5 separate regions of the Homo sapiens genome follow, and all the other regions are linked to region 4. The links are contacts of gene promoters, found by promoter capture Hi-C in human tissues and cell types (Jung and others, 2019). All regions are on one chromosome and are shown on one strand. The core of a region is centred on a gene start or on the middle of the fragment in contact, and the rest is flanking DNA. Distances in the headings are between cores, read along the strand shown.

Evidence for each region. The method cuts DNA at HindIII sites, captures the fragments that hold promoters and counts their contacts. A contact is called where the count stands out against the background at its distance.
Region 1: a contact is called between a fragment that was not itself captured here and the fragment with the promoter of TLN2 in region 4, in 4 of the 25 tissues and cell types used here (bladder, hippocampus, mesenchymal stem cells and 1 more).
Region 2: a contact is called between a fragment that was not itself captured here and the fragment with the promoter of TLN2 in region 4, in 1 of the 25 tissues and cell types used here (heart left ventricle).
Region 3: a contact is called between a fragment that was not itself captured here and the fragment with the promoter of TLN2 in region 4, in 2 of the 25 tissues and cell types used here (aorta and thymus).
Region 5: a fragment that was not itself captured here is called in contact with the fragment with the promoter of TLN2 in region 4 in 1 of the 25 tissues and cell types used here (hippocampus).

The regions. Positions count from the first base shown.
Region 1 is chr15:62,654,938-62,657,637 of GRCh38, reverse strand. It overlaps TLN2 (talin 2), which reads right to left. Exons shown (of 59, transcript NM_015059.3): 8 at 1,552-1,694. Among named protein-coding and RNA genes, the nearest start is that of MGC15885, 11 kb to the right of the region's middle. The HindIII fragment of the contact is 3,891 bases long and covers 1-2,700 here.
Region 2 is chr15:62,732,090-62,734,789 of GRCh38, reverse strand. The region is part of intron 28 of TLN2 (talin 2); the gene reads right to left. Among named protein-coding and RNA genes, the nearest start is that of MGC15885, 88 kb to the right of the region's middle. The HindIII fragment of the contact is 4,474 bases long and covers 1-2,700 here.
Region 3 is chr15:62,675,737-62,678,436 of GRCh38, reverse strand. The region is part of intron 11 of TLN2 (talin 2); the gene reads right to left. All of the region lies in intron 3 of LOC105370855 (a long non-coding RNA gene), which reads left to right. Among named protein-coding and RNA genes, the nearest start is that of MGC15885, 32 kb to the right of the region's middle. The HindIII fragment of the contact is 4,628 bases long and covers 1-2,700 here.
Region 4 is chr15:62,389,146-62,391,845 of GRCh38, reverse strand. It overlaps TLN2 (talin 2), which reads right to left and starts at 1,296. Exons shown (of 59, transcript NM_015059.3): 1 at 1,161-1,296. RefSeq lists enhancers at 274-888, 1,807-1,876 and silencers at 1,067-1,396, 1,444-1,640. The HindIII fragment of the contact is 23,885 bases long and covers 1-2,700 here.
Region 5 is chr15:62,822,578-62,825,277 of GRCh38, reverse strand. The region is part of intron 54 of TLN2 (talin 2); the gene reads right to left. It overlaps MIR190A (microRNA 190a), which reads right to left and starts at 1,321; the gene lies at 1,237-1,321. The HindIII fragment of the contact is 5,416 bases long and covers 1-2,700 here.

The DNA.
Region 1 (2,700 bases), core at 52-2,551, 270 kb before region 4:
CAGGACACAGTGGATGATCACCGCATGGGAGAAAACTAAGGCAAAAGAAAAACAAACTTTTGTCCAAAATGGCCTGTAGATGGAAAACATTAGAGGTGTCCAGTACAGCAAAAGCAAAGTCTGATGACAGTCCAGAAAGGCAGAAGTGATTATAAAAAGAGGCAAAGGAAACTCATATGAAATGATCAGCTTCAAAGAGGCCAAAAGACAAATACAGTGTACTTTTTACAATCCTAAATCACAAAGCTAGCTAATCAAATATCTAGAGGTAAAATCAACCCAACCCCCATCCCCAGATAAAAACCAATGTAATAGAGGAAGAGAAAGAAAGGCGATAGGCACACACACACACAGACAAGAACTCAATACTCAAGACAGCAGGGGAAATGACAAGCGAATGCATCCTAAAATGGGGAGCTTGTTGTGTCTGAACTCCTCCTCCTCCCAGTTTCTCCATCCATCACTGCTGTTGCTTCCCCCCCCCACCTTTTCAGCCTTTCCTTTCTCTAAATGACCCCCAGATCACCCTAAGATGGACACTCCAAGCTATCACTCTAAGCCTTAAGCCAACAAGCATCTTTTCACTGCCCTGCTATCTCTCTCCTTTTGGCCTCCCCACTTCTTTCCTCTCAGCCCTCTTTCCATGCCATCCTTCCGTCCACTAACTCAGGGGTCAGGAAACTTCTCTAAAGGCCAAATAGTAAACATTTCAAACCTCCTGGGCCACACAGTCTCTGTCACTGAGTTCTGTCACCAGAATGCGAGAACAGCCACAGAAGATATGTGTAACAATTACATAACCCTCAAGGGGATTTATCAATATGTAATACTTGAATACATAAGCTGTGTTCCAATACAACTTTATTGACAAGTACAGGCAAAAGGCATGACTGTAGTTTGCCAACCCCTACATTATTTCTATGGGCAGATAGATGGATAAATAACGAGAGGAAAGGGAGGGAGGGAAGGAAAGGAAGAAAGGAAGCTGGTAGGAGAGGACAAAGATGGATGATGTTTTCCTTGAGCCACAAGAAACCTTGGGGACAATCTAGTGCAATCCACATCTTACATACTGGGAAACCGCAACTCAGATATGTTAAATGACTTGTCAGTTTTAACAATTAGTTAAGGGTAAAGACATGAAAGGTTATTGAGAGGATATCTTCCAGTTAATGAGAGTCCTGATTTCTGACCAACATTCTCTTGCATTCTAAGATGCCAGCTAAGAAACCTTTAGTGCACTTGAAATGGTGAGCCAGTTAAGTGAAATACAACTGTCCCTCAAAGCCCGGCAGAGAGGGACACAGTGTTGGCTACCAGGACACAATCTGGGAAGCCATAGGGAGGCCCTACTCCGGATGGTCAGCTGCTCATCCAGAATATCAACCTGCACCACAACCAAACACATGCGGGGACCCACGAGCAGCGCCTGCTGGAAACGACGCCATAAATGTGGCAGAAGCCAGCGCCGCCCTCCTGCTCGCCACAAGATACAGCCAGGAGCTTCCTGCAATCTCACCAACCTCAGTGTCTGAGCAGTAAATACTGTACCTGAACATAAAGCAAGTTCAGCTGCACGGGGTCTCTCGAATCTACATTCTGATCAGAGTAAAAGAACTTCCGTCTAAGCAGCAACGTTTCGTTTTCATCTACTCCTTGTTCTCTGAATGTTCGGCTGTGATCCAGCCAATTTACTGCAACACAACAAGACATATAAGAGAACTGTGTTTATTTTTCCTGTTAATTAAAGGGAATTTACCAAAAGAGCAGTGTGATGCAGATTTCTGTATCTCTGATACTTAGTTATAGTAGTTATAGTTATTTCTTATTTTAGAACTATGGTTTTTAAGCTTTGCAAAATAATTTCACATCTACCAAAGGACCAGCCAAAATGGAAATGAGGGAGAAAATTCCCATGCCTGAAACACAAGAGGAAGGAAAAGCATCAGAGGCTTCGGGGAGTGACACGTTCTCTCCACTGACGCATTCCCATGGCCCAGTACACCCTCTGTGGAGCAGGGGACAGTGCCAGCCAACCCACGGTGACATGTGCTACAATGAATGTATAATATGCTGCCTCTCCGGTGGCAGGGTGGAGGGCAGATACTCCAGTCTCACCTAATAAAGTGATCTTGAGGCTATGAGCATAGTAAGTTACCTCTGATCTCAAGTAGAAAAGAGGAAGAAAATGAAAGTATGGAGGGAGTAGCGGAGACAACACTAAAGGGGGGCTGGCAGAACCGTGCCATGGGCCAGCTTAAATCTCAGCCATTCTGAGAACCCTGTCCTCACATCTATGTGCACAGGATTCGACCACTCCCCTCTACACTTTCACAGCTCTCACTCCAACACTCCTCTCTGGGCTTCAAACACATTGTGGGTTAAGTCCTTATCACCAGCGTCTCTAGATTATAAGCAACCTGAGTACACAAAACGTGTCTCCCACATCTCCCACAGTACCTGGGAGAGTATTTTGCACATAATAATAAATCCTTGGGATTTTTCTACTAAAGTCTCTTGAAAAGAAGTATATAACTGCAAATCAAATTAGGGAGTAAGAAAAAAAAAACACAGAAAGGGTGAGAGGAAATGAGAGCCTCACAGAAGATCAATAAACACAATGGCAATAATGATGTCATCCCGATACAGCCACAAGAACAAATACAATGAAAGGAGGAAAGAGGCCAGGAAGTCTAGGTG
Region 2 (2,700 bases), core at 106-2,605, 340 kb before region 4:
CTAATATGTAAATATTTAGTAAATCACACAGCTGGGATATAAAACTACGATCTAATCAAGGTAAATGACAAAGCTGCCAATCTATCATTTATCCCATGGCACTTCTGAGTACAGCTGGCAGAATAAAAGAATTTTAAACTAAGTGCTTTTTATGGCAGAGGAGAAGCCCAGAAGAGAAAGCACAAAGGTGAACAAAGCTAAGGTGAAGGAGAGAAACAATCTGAGGAGAATGGTCATTCCATTTTACGCTTAAGCTTTTGGCACAGGGTTGAAGGATGCTGTTGCTCAGAAAAGCGCCAGATGTAGTTAAGACCTCATCTGGCTCTGGCTCTGCTGCTGATTAGTTGTGTGGTCTAGACTGCTGCCTTTTCCCTCTGGGCCTCCCTTTCTCACGGGTTTTAGGAGAGGCTGAGTTCCTAGCTCTGACCATTGCAGATTCTAGGCTGTGATTTCTAGACCTCTCCTCTTGTCTTCCCATTTGTCATATGGACTCTTGAATCCACTTCTATTTGAGTCATATGTAAGTTTGGAGGAGTAAATCATTTATCATATGTAATTAGAAAAGACATGTTTATGCAAAACCCATTTAGTGAAAAACCTTTCATAGACTCATACAATTTAAAAAAACGCAGAAATCCGAAGAGCTAAATTCCAAGAACAACCTGGTCCATCCCATGTGTTTTCTGCTAAGGACTCACTGTGAAATCTCAAAGCACATCAAGGATCTTCTTGAGAGAGATGAGGTTTCTGGAAACAGGAAGCCCATACCATCAAAAGGACGAAAGAAGGCCACGAGAGGTCAGAAAGCCCAGTGAACACCCATGGCGGTGCATGGCTGAACGCACAGCAACATTCTCAATGGTCATCACTACAGGATCAGATCCCCAAGCAAACAACACCCACCGAATGGAACTGTTCCTGTAGTCAAAGTGTGCACCACAATACCAGAACCACCAGTGTGAAATACTAAAGCAGATTTCTGTTTCAATAACCACAGTCCTTTGAAAACACAGATTACTTTCACAGTATTCTTGCCATCTGGATCTTAAATGATACTTAGTAACAGAGTCTTATACAGGCATATCAAGTGATATCAAATATAGTAGCATTCTACATAATGGTTGCTATTCTTCACCAGAATTCATGTGGATTGTGTATCCAGACAGTATTGGGCCACATAGCAACCTCAGAAGACAAAGACCAGGTATGACACAAATCTTTTATCTGTTCCAAAGTATTTACAAAGGGTTATGTGTAATTGTAATCAGCTATACAGAAATATATTTTGAAGACTGCATTGGCCAAACAGAAACACACTTGCATTAGAATACAGCCCAGTGGCAGCTCACATGCAACTTCTGAAAACCCCACACACCTCAATTATGGACAAGGAAACTGAGACCCATGGAGAAGTTTTCCACACACGCTCTCTCTTTCCTTGCTTCCCATCCATTCTCCAACCTTCCTGAAACTGCCTTCAACAAGGAGAATAGTGATCTCCTTATTCCTAAAGCTAATGGATGCTTAAGTCTCCCATTTGACATGACTTTCTGGGCAGCAACTGTGTCTATGGCTCTAGAGACATCCCTCTCTCCTGGTTTCCCTGCCCTCTCCACAGCTCCATGTTCTTCTTTCTTTCAAAGATTTCCATTGCCAGTTTCCTCCCTAACCAGCCAGGTTCTTCAGGATTACAACTGATAAGCTGTCTCTCACTCTACCACTCCCTGTTGGCAAAATTATCTACTTCCAATCATTATCATTTTACCAATAATTTTCAAATCTGTATCATCCAGCCCAGCCTTCTCTACTGAGTTTCAGAGCCAAAGATTTAGCTGCCTAATGATGCTCTCACTGCATATTCTCCAAGCACTTCAAATGGAATATATCTAGTGCCGAACCCAGCATTCCTGAGCTTCACCTCCCCTGCTCCTACCAATGGTCCTGTGTTCCCACCAGTGATTCATACAACTCTTCACTCAGCTATAAGGCCAAACACTTGGAACCGTTCATGTTACCATCTCCACCAACTTCTAACCAGTCACCAAGAACGATTGGGTTTTTGCTTCTTCAATCGACCACTTCGTCTCCACTGTAGGACACTACCATCTCTTACCTGGATTAATGCAACAGCCTGCTTGCCTACCACTTTGTTTCCGTCCAATCCATTCTACACACAGGAGGAAGGGCGACCTATACAAAAAGCAATCTGAACTGTGTCCACAGATGAAAAACATGTTCACATATTCTTCAATTAAAGTATAACTCATTTATTTTAGCTTATGAGGCCCTTTAGGATCTGACCCTGGCCTAACTTTTCAGCGTTATCCTCTTATTTCTCACTTACTCTTTGCCTATTACTTTCACCATCTTCAGTTCCTTCCATCATCCTTCTCTCATCTTTAAGGCATCATACATGCAGTGCTCACTTATGCAACTGCCTTCCAGTGCCTGCCAAAATTAAATGGGGCTACTTCTAGGCTGTTTTTCAGACACCAACTAGACAGCATGTCTTCCTGGGTGTTATTGGTATGAGATGACGCAACATGTAAAGTAGTCTTTTCTCTACTAAATATGCATTTCATCATCTACACAACAGCTGGCAAGATTTCGGGAAAGTGTAGACATTTTTGAAATTTAAATCTCTCATATTACCCTATGATTTTCTAAGAATTTTATCATACCTTTCCTCCTCCTAGAATG
Region 3 (2,700 bases), core at 102-2,601, 290 kb before region 4:
AATTTTTAATAAAAGGATGTTGAGTTTTATCAAACACCTTAGTGGCTTTATATAAAATAGTTATATGATATCATCTTATTTAAAGTCTTGATGTGATTCAGGTTCATTAATTCTTAATATTGACTCATTCCTGAATTTTTTAGCTATACCACTTTTAAAATAAGGCAAACTATGGTCACATAAATTATATTAAAAACAATTATAAAATAAAATGTCATACTAATGGGCCCACTGAGCAAAACACTGGAGTGAGCAATGTGCTATTAACATTGTAGAAAGCAACAAAAATAAAATTAATAACAATTTGAATATTTAATATGTATATAGAAGTTGCAAGTGCTTGGCCAGGGGTGGTGGCTCACGCCTGTAATCCCAGCACTTTGGGAGGCCAAGGCAGGAGGATGACCTGAGGTAGGGAGTTCGAGACCAGCCTGACCAACATGGAGAAACCCCATCTTTATCAAAAATACAGAATTAGCTGGGCATGGTGGTGCATGCCTGTAACCCTAGCTACTCGGGAAGCTAAGGCAGGAGAATCGCTTGAACACAGGAGGCGGAGGTTGTGGTGAGCCGAGATCGTGCCATTGCTCTCTAGCCTGGGTGAATCTCCGTCTCAAAAAAAAAAAAAAAGTTGCAAGTGCTGCCTACTTTCTTAATCCTTTCTTCTCTTCAAAGAGATGTAATTTTTAAAAAAAAATAAAGAGAAAGAAGGGAAAGAAAGAGAGGAAAGGGAGAGAGAAGGAAGGAGGAAGGAAGAAAGGAAAAAAAAGTCTACCATGTTCTTGTTTTGCCTTAAATAATTGTGTAAAAGGAGATTTGGTTTGATCAAACCTGCAAGACCCTGCTATAATGAGAAGATCTTTGCTCTCTCTCAAATTATCCTGGTGACCATGGACCGATTTTTCTTAGGTTCCAAATTGTCACTGAAGAACAAATTTATTTTTTCTACAATTTGGTGTTCAACTTCTCTTCCTAATTACAGATTTCTGTATGTTCTTTATCATCCTAAATTTACTGACCTACATGCAAGAGGCACAACAGTTTTTTAGCACGTCACTGAAACTGACTGTGTGAAGCCTGATGGTATTAATGGAAGATGATCTGAATGCAAGAGATGAATTTAATACTCAAAGGACTACAGGGAAACTCAAGAAAATAAATGGAAATTGATGCCATTATCAGTGGACATGATGAAAATTTGTTTAATCTTTGTCCCTGCAAGGCATTGGAGCTCATCTACTACTGGTTGCCCTTCACAATAATGAATGAAAAGCACGCCTTCTAAAATGAGCAGATCTCCCCATGTGTTCAGGGCACAGATGGGAAGCTAGAACGGTGGAAGCAGGTGACTACCTCTCAAATGGGGTCACTCCGGCTAAGGCAGTACAGCTAGAGGTTGGGAACACCATCTGTGAATCAGGGAAACGTGAATTCAAGTCCTGGCTTCTTCAGTTACTAGCCTTATGGCCCCCACTGAATCAATGGATCTAGCTGGGGCTCTGTGTTCTCACTTATACAAGAAGATAGGGTGCGGTGGCTCACGCCTGTAATACTAGCACTTTGGGAGGCCAAGGTGGGCGGACTGCCTGAGCTCAGGAGTTCAAGACTAGCCTGGGCAACACGGTGAAACCCTGTCTCTACTAAAATACAAAAAATCAGCCGGGTGTGGCAGCATGCGCCTGTAGTCCCAGCTACTTGGGAGGGTGAGGCAGGAGAATGGCTTGAACCCAGGAGGCAGAGGTTTCAATGAGCCACGATCGCGCCACTGCACTCCGGCCTGGGCGACAGAGTGAGACTCCGTCTCCAAAAAACAAAAGAAGATAGTAGTAGTAGTTTTACCCTTGGGTTGTTGATAGCTTTGAATGAGATAAGCTTGATGGATGGCTGTTTACTAAACATTATTGCTGTTATTATTAATATTGGTAAGTGGAGTCACTGTTACCTAGATGGCACCAGTGCCATTTAAATACTCACTGATCTTTTAAAACTGCCACTAAATGTAAAAGATTCGACCTCTCAATTATTTTTCTTAAAAACAAGGTGACTGATGTATACGTTCTTCATTGCAAAGGCCCCAGCGATTTTGGATGTAAAACTGAGAGCTAGTTTGGTTAATGTATTAATAACTAATCAGCATGCAGTATATGGCTTTCTGATGCATAACATCTTGGTATCTCCTCTCTCCAAATGAGGCAGCTTGCTCCGATGAGGAGTGGGGTCAAGAAAAACATCTTAGAGGACAACGTAACTTCTTCTTTTGCAGTTCTCTTTGGCTGTGGGGAAAGACACCTTCTTAGTCTGGTCAGTTTTGTCCTTCCTACTTCAGTCCCTGGATGCAGCCGCAACACGGCTGGTTTGCTTCCATTTGCAGAAAGCAACACAAGAAGACTGACTATAAGTTAGAGCTTTCTCCACGGCCCCAGGCGAGAGGCCAAAGGGGTCAAAGCAAAACAAGCAGAAATCTGTGAAACCTAATAGTTAAACAACTAAACAGCGTATCACTTTCCTGAGGTTAGGAAAAGCAAAGGGGTAACAAAGATAACCAGAGGATTTGTCAGTCAAGTGAAGATGACACCCATCAAGGGCCAACCTGGACTTGCTCACAGGTACAATTTCAAAAACACGCCTCTTTTCCTCTAGTAGGAAAACAGACAATTCCCATGAAAACAGATCTGAAGGCCGTAAAATCCCAAGCCCTGT
Region 4 (2,700 bases), core at 47-2,546:
GGCGTGTTCCCTGAGCCTCGGAGCCCCAAGGCCGGGTCCAGGCGGGACAGAGGAAGGCGGCAAGCCCAGCACGCTGTCCGTGACGGCGGCTCTCGTTCCCAAGCCCCGCCGGCTGGCGTGGCGACGCGCTGTAGTCCGCGCGCCCTTGCGGGGACAGCAGTCGTGCGCGCCTTGTGCGGCCGCCTCCGCGCCTGCCTCGGCGCGCAAACTTTCCCGGCGACAACCGATCAGGCCTCTCCGACTGGGGCGCGGGGCTCTCCCCGGGACCCAGAAACTGCTCGCCCCCTCCCCTCCGCAGTCAAGACCCACTGAAAATATGGCGCCCTCGAAAGTCGTTCCTCGGTCCCCTCAGGGATCCCGAAATACTCGTCTCCAGGTCCCTCCAGCTTCCAATGGGCGCAAAATTTCAGCTCGTGGGACCGAGGAAGGAGAGGGAGCCGCTGAGTCTGTGTGAGGCCAGCCGCACTGGATGCAAAGCCTGGCCCCGCTCTCGGCCCGGCACTGCCCCCGTCGCTCAGCGGCCAGCAGTTCGCCCGTGGCGAGATTGCCAAGTAAAGGGCAGTCGTGGGATCGGCAGGTCTGAGTGTCCGGCACCGGAGAAGGAACTCCGCACTGGCGGGCTGTCTTAGCCCAGAGCCTCGGCGGGAGACTTGTTTGCAAAGTGGCGCTGGAGTCCCGGCGGCCAGTGCTGGAATGAAGCTGCTCCTCCAGCGCCAACTCTTCTGGCGCGGGGGCCCGGCTGGGGTCGAGGGGACACTCTATGCAGGCGGGGCCGCTTTTCAAAGCCCAGTTACCGGAAACCCAGCGAGAGCCCCGGAGGGGACCGGCTGCCCACGGCCAGGAATCCGCTCTCTGGCGCCGACTGCGAGGCTGTTTGCAAACCGCTGCGCCCGGGTCCGGTGCAGTGAAACATACATGTGCAATAGACAGGTGCATTAATTTCATTTTATTTTTATTTTCCTGCAAGAAGCCCTCCTAGACCATCAAATCTGGGAGCTTTACGGGTTTTTCCTGCATTGGCATCACTCACGAGAAGCAAAAGGGAGGAAAAAAAACCCCACATTTTCCTTCTGGAGAGGGGAGGGAAAAGACACGAGAAATTCATGCAACGTGCATGCAGCTGGAGGAAGAGGAAAACCCGAGTGAGCCGTGCGCCTTACCGGGGGATGCATTTACTGTCTCATTGCAGAGCGCCTGCCCGGGAGTGCAGCCCGCGTCCCCCCGCGCGCTGGGCGACCACTCCGCTCCCGCAGCCGCCTCAGCCGCTGCCGCCGCCGCTGGCTCCGGGCGCGGAACAAGAGCCGAGGGCGAGCGCGAGCGCACTGCCCGAGAGCGCTGGGAGGGCAGGAAGCGCGTCATCATTCGGGGACGGCGCGGCGCCGGTCCGGCCGCGGCGCCGCGCGGCACCGGGGTGGGCCGCCACCGAGGCTCAGGCGCCCGTCCTGGGTTTCCTCCCACGCGTGGTGATGCTGAAAGGGTCCGCGAGGGAAGGTGATGCACCGGCCGAGCTGTCACGGGGAAGGGAGGCTCGGGGTGACCCCGGCTTCCCAGAATTGGGGCTCTGCTGTGTAAAGGGGATGACTGCAGGACACAGCGTCTTGTAGGCTGGGGCCCCTAGGTCCGCAGAGTGCCCTCTCGGGACCTCTGGCCCGGTCCTGGGGGAAGCGAGCTGTGGCTAACTGGAGGGCCGTGGTGGGCGGTGGGGTCTTGCTGCGAAGCGGAGGGCCGTGACCCCAGGCGAGCCTGCTCCTTTCAGCACAAGGACCCTGAAACCTTGCTGGTCAGGTGTCACTTAGGTATTTAGAGAACGACTATAGGGATGAGTGGCGGTAGGGGCGTGCTGTGTTGATAAGAAGAAAATAATTCACTCCTGCTTGCCATGCCCTGAATAAAGTCAGTTATATACCTCTTACATTTACAGTCATTATTAGTAAATACTGTAAATACCATGGAACAATGTGAAGGTTATTCAAGGGGGTGAGGAGACAAAACACTATGTACCGTATGGTCCCGTTTTTAAAAACTGTGATTTATGGAGAAAGGCAGAAAAGACTGGATAGATAAACACCAATAAGTCTCTCAGTGATTGGTGGAATTGTGAGTAATTTTACTTTTTTATTTATCTGTAAGGGACACATTAGTAATTTAAAAAAACAAGAATTAGCCATGACCCCTTTACTCCTAGTACTTTGGGAGGCCAAAGCAGGAAGATCTCAAGCCCAAGGAGTTTAAGATCGGCCTGGGCAATATAGCGAGACCTTATCTCTACAAAAAAAATTAAAAATCAGCCGGGTGTGGGGGCGCATGCCTGTAGTCCCAGTTACTGGGGAGAATGGTGGGAGGATCGCTTGAGCCCGGGAGCTCGGGGGCTGCATGAGCGGTGATCCTACCACTGCACTCCAGCCTGGATGACAGAGCGGGACTCTGTCTCAAAAAAGAAAAAAAAAAGGAAAGACGACATTATTTCCATCCCAATACAGAATGGACCAGGAAATAGGTAGCAAATCTATTCAGTTACTCAAATGGAACTGCTGGCAACTTTTTAGTGTTTCTCAGAGAAAGAAACTGCTGTCACCATAAACCGGAGACTGAATTGATTTTGTAAATTGAAATTATTTTGAATAAGTCCGTTGGAACATTGGATAAGGCTGGACATTCTGTGAGAACAATACCCTGTCCTTAACCAGGCTGATGAACCGG
Region 5 (2,700 bases), core at 32-2,531, 430 kb before region 4:
GCCATTTGCCATTTCAGTCAAACAATGTAACTGGACTCAAAACCAAAGCCGGTGTTCTCTAGCTGTGTGAAGGAGGGACTGATTGGGGCAGCATCTTGAAACCCGCCTGACAGAGCACCTGCCAACACACACAGATCGCTTCTCAATGGAGAAGGATTCCAGAGACAGGATCCATTATGTAACTCCAGAAGCCAGGACTCCAACATTACAGGACCCTCTCCTGTGTCATCACCTCTCTGATGTTGCTGTTGGTGACCCTGTCACTATGCATTCACCTGTAAGCAATGTGGCAATGACTTCTAGACACAGTAAGGGGAAGCTTTCATGACTACCTGTTTAAACCATTTGCTTACACCTTTTCTCCTCCAAAACATTGAGAACAGTAGTTCTCTTTCCAGAAAGCAGTGCTCACAAAGTATTTTGTTTGTTGAGAGAACTCAGAATGAACTCACACATACTTCACAGGCTTTTCTATAAGGAAGAGGTCAAAACCAACCAAAGAAGGCTGTTATGTACCAGAAAAAATGTTTTCTATATCATAATCCCAAACTTCCTGCCACAGTCAATTAGGCTATGATATTACTTTCCGATTGTTGGCTTATTCTAAATATTACCAACCTCCACTGACAAGTTAACCTATAACAGGAAATTCAAGAGTTCAGTCAACATTATATTACCTTCATGAGATATATTTAGTCCTATATCCAAGGTTTGTACAAAGCTCACTGACTCAGTATCCATGCAGCTGGTATGGAGGATTTGCTTTATACATTCTGTTACTGTGAGTGGAAAGGGAAGTCATAGAAAACTGATCTGTGCTCCTTGAATTTTTGCTGAAACCCTGACATGAACTTCTAAATTGAAGATCAGGATAAAAATGAACCAAAATGAAACATGAATCTAGATGTGTTTGAGGCTATAATCCTGACCTTTATTCTGTGTCACAGACATGGGTTGGAACCGTTTTTTCCACCAAGCATATTGAATTCCTTAAGGATTCATCACTGCACAAAACTAAGCCACACAGAATACCCCAGGCTCTTATGAAACATCAACACTTATTGTTTCTATAATAAGCAAGTAATCCAGTAATACTGATACAGGTCTCAAATGCTATAAGAAGAAATGGAAGATAACATGAATTGTAATGAGTGCTCCATCTTCTAAATCTACTTGTGATTTTAACGTGTTCTTTCCTGTTGCCTTATAAACTTTATTAGGAACCCCCGGAGACAGGGCAAGACACTGTAGGAATATGTTTGATATATAGTTGGATTAAATAACAACCTAATATATCAAACATATCACACAGAGGCCTGCAGAAAAGGCATCCAGGTTTGACTGAGCTCGAGACTAGGCACAGTATTGAAGGTTACGGCTGCAGGGGGTGGTCACTTTTGCAGCAACTCCGATAACTGTCTTTGGAGCACAAGTCTGCCTGCAGATGTGGAAACGGCGCCATTAACAATACTGTCAGCACATGCACCAGCGCTCACTGACATTCTCATCTCCCCAGGTGAACAGCAGATTCAACGGTGCATGTCTGGGAGATCCCAGGCAAAAAGTGATGCTTAAGTTTTAAGAGCCTGAGGTGGAAATGTACCAGAATCATCATCAAAGACCATGAGCCATTCTCCTTTAAAAACAGGCAACCTGAGACGGTGGTGAGCAGAGCATTTTAGACAAAATTACTGTCTCTCCCCAAACTCTTCCTGAAAGCAGTGTGAATACTCCCCAGAAGGAACACACATCCATTTTATACTGAAGGCATGTGTGTGTACCAGGGTAGGGTTATAGGGATGTAATAAGCAATTGTTTACTGACAGTACCCTGAGGATTTTTTTAAGGTTTTGGGAGAGAATGGAGAGAAGTGATTCAACTCAAAAGACTGGCTGATTTTGGTGCAGATTGTTGTTATTGTTTTTTAATTGGGGAAATAAATTCCTTTATAAAGGCAAGGAAGATATTTCATGCAAAAGTTATTGCAATGTGCCCTATTAGGCACAAAAACTATGGTTTGGGTTGCAGGTTTTCCAAAACAGTTTCATAGATAATATCCACCTCTGGCCATCAGGCAGAGAAAGACTTCAGACCATTGTGAAGCATTCTAGAAGTACCCATCACCCTTCCTAATACGATGGGAGTGAGCTAAGGTAGGAACCCTCAAACAAAGGATTCACATCATCAGTTATGTTAACCTTGACCTTGGCCGAAGGACTCCTTGGCTTTCCTGTAAAAACCCTCAATGTAAACACAAAGGCTATATGATCCTAGAGTACTGTAGGGAGTCCTCACAGGCCTACTTCAGCAGTCATTAATTTTTAAGGTGCTGTTATTTTTTAAACCTTTGTTTTATAAAATGTTAAAACACAGACCCTTCCATCATCCCAATTCCATCATCATTCTTGTACATTCCCTACTTATTTTCTTCATCTGTGAGTTTTTAGAGTTGTAATCATAATAAGTACATAATTCTGCATCCTTTCTGTTATACCATGAGCATTTTCTTCGTGCTACACAGTCCTAGCAACCATTATTTTTCATAGCTGCATAATATTATAGCTGCATAATATTCCTTCGAGGAGTAGCTCTAAGGGCACACATAAACTACAAATGGCCTTTGTGGGACTAGACAAGCCTTCTCTGACAATGGGGTGGGAAACAGGGGCTGGTATGGACTGAAACTGCCACCCAGGGCCA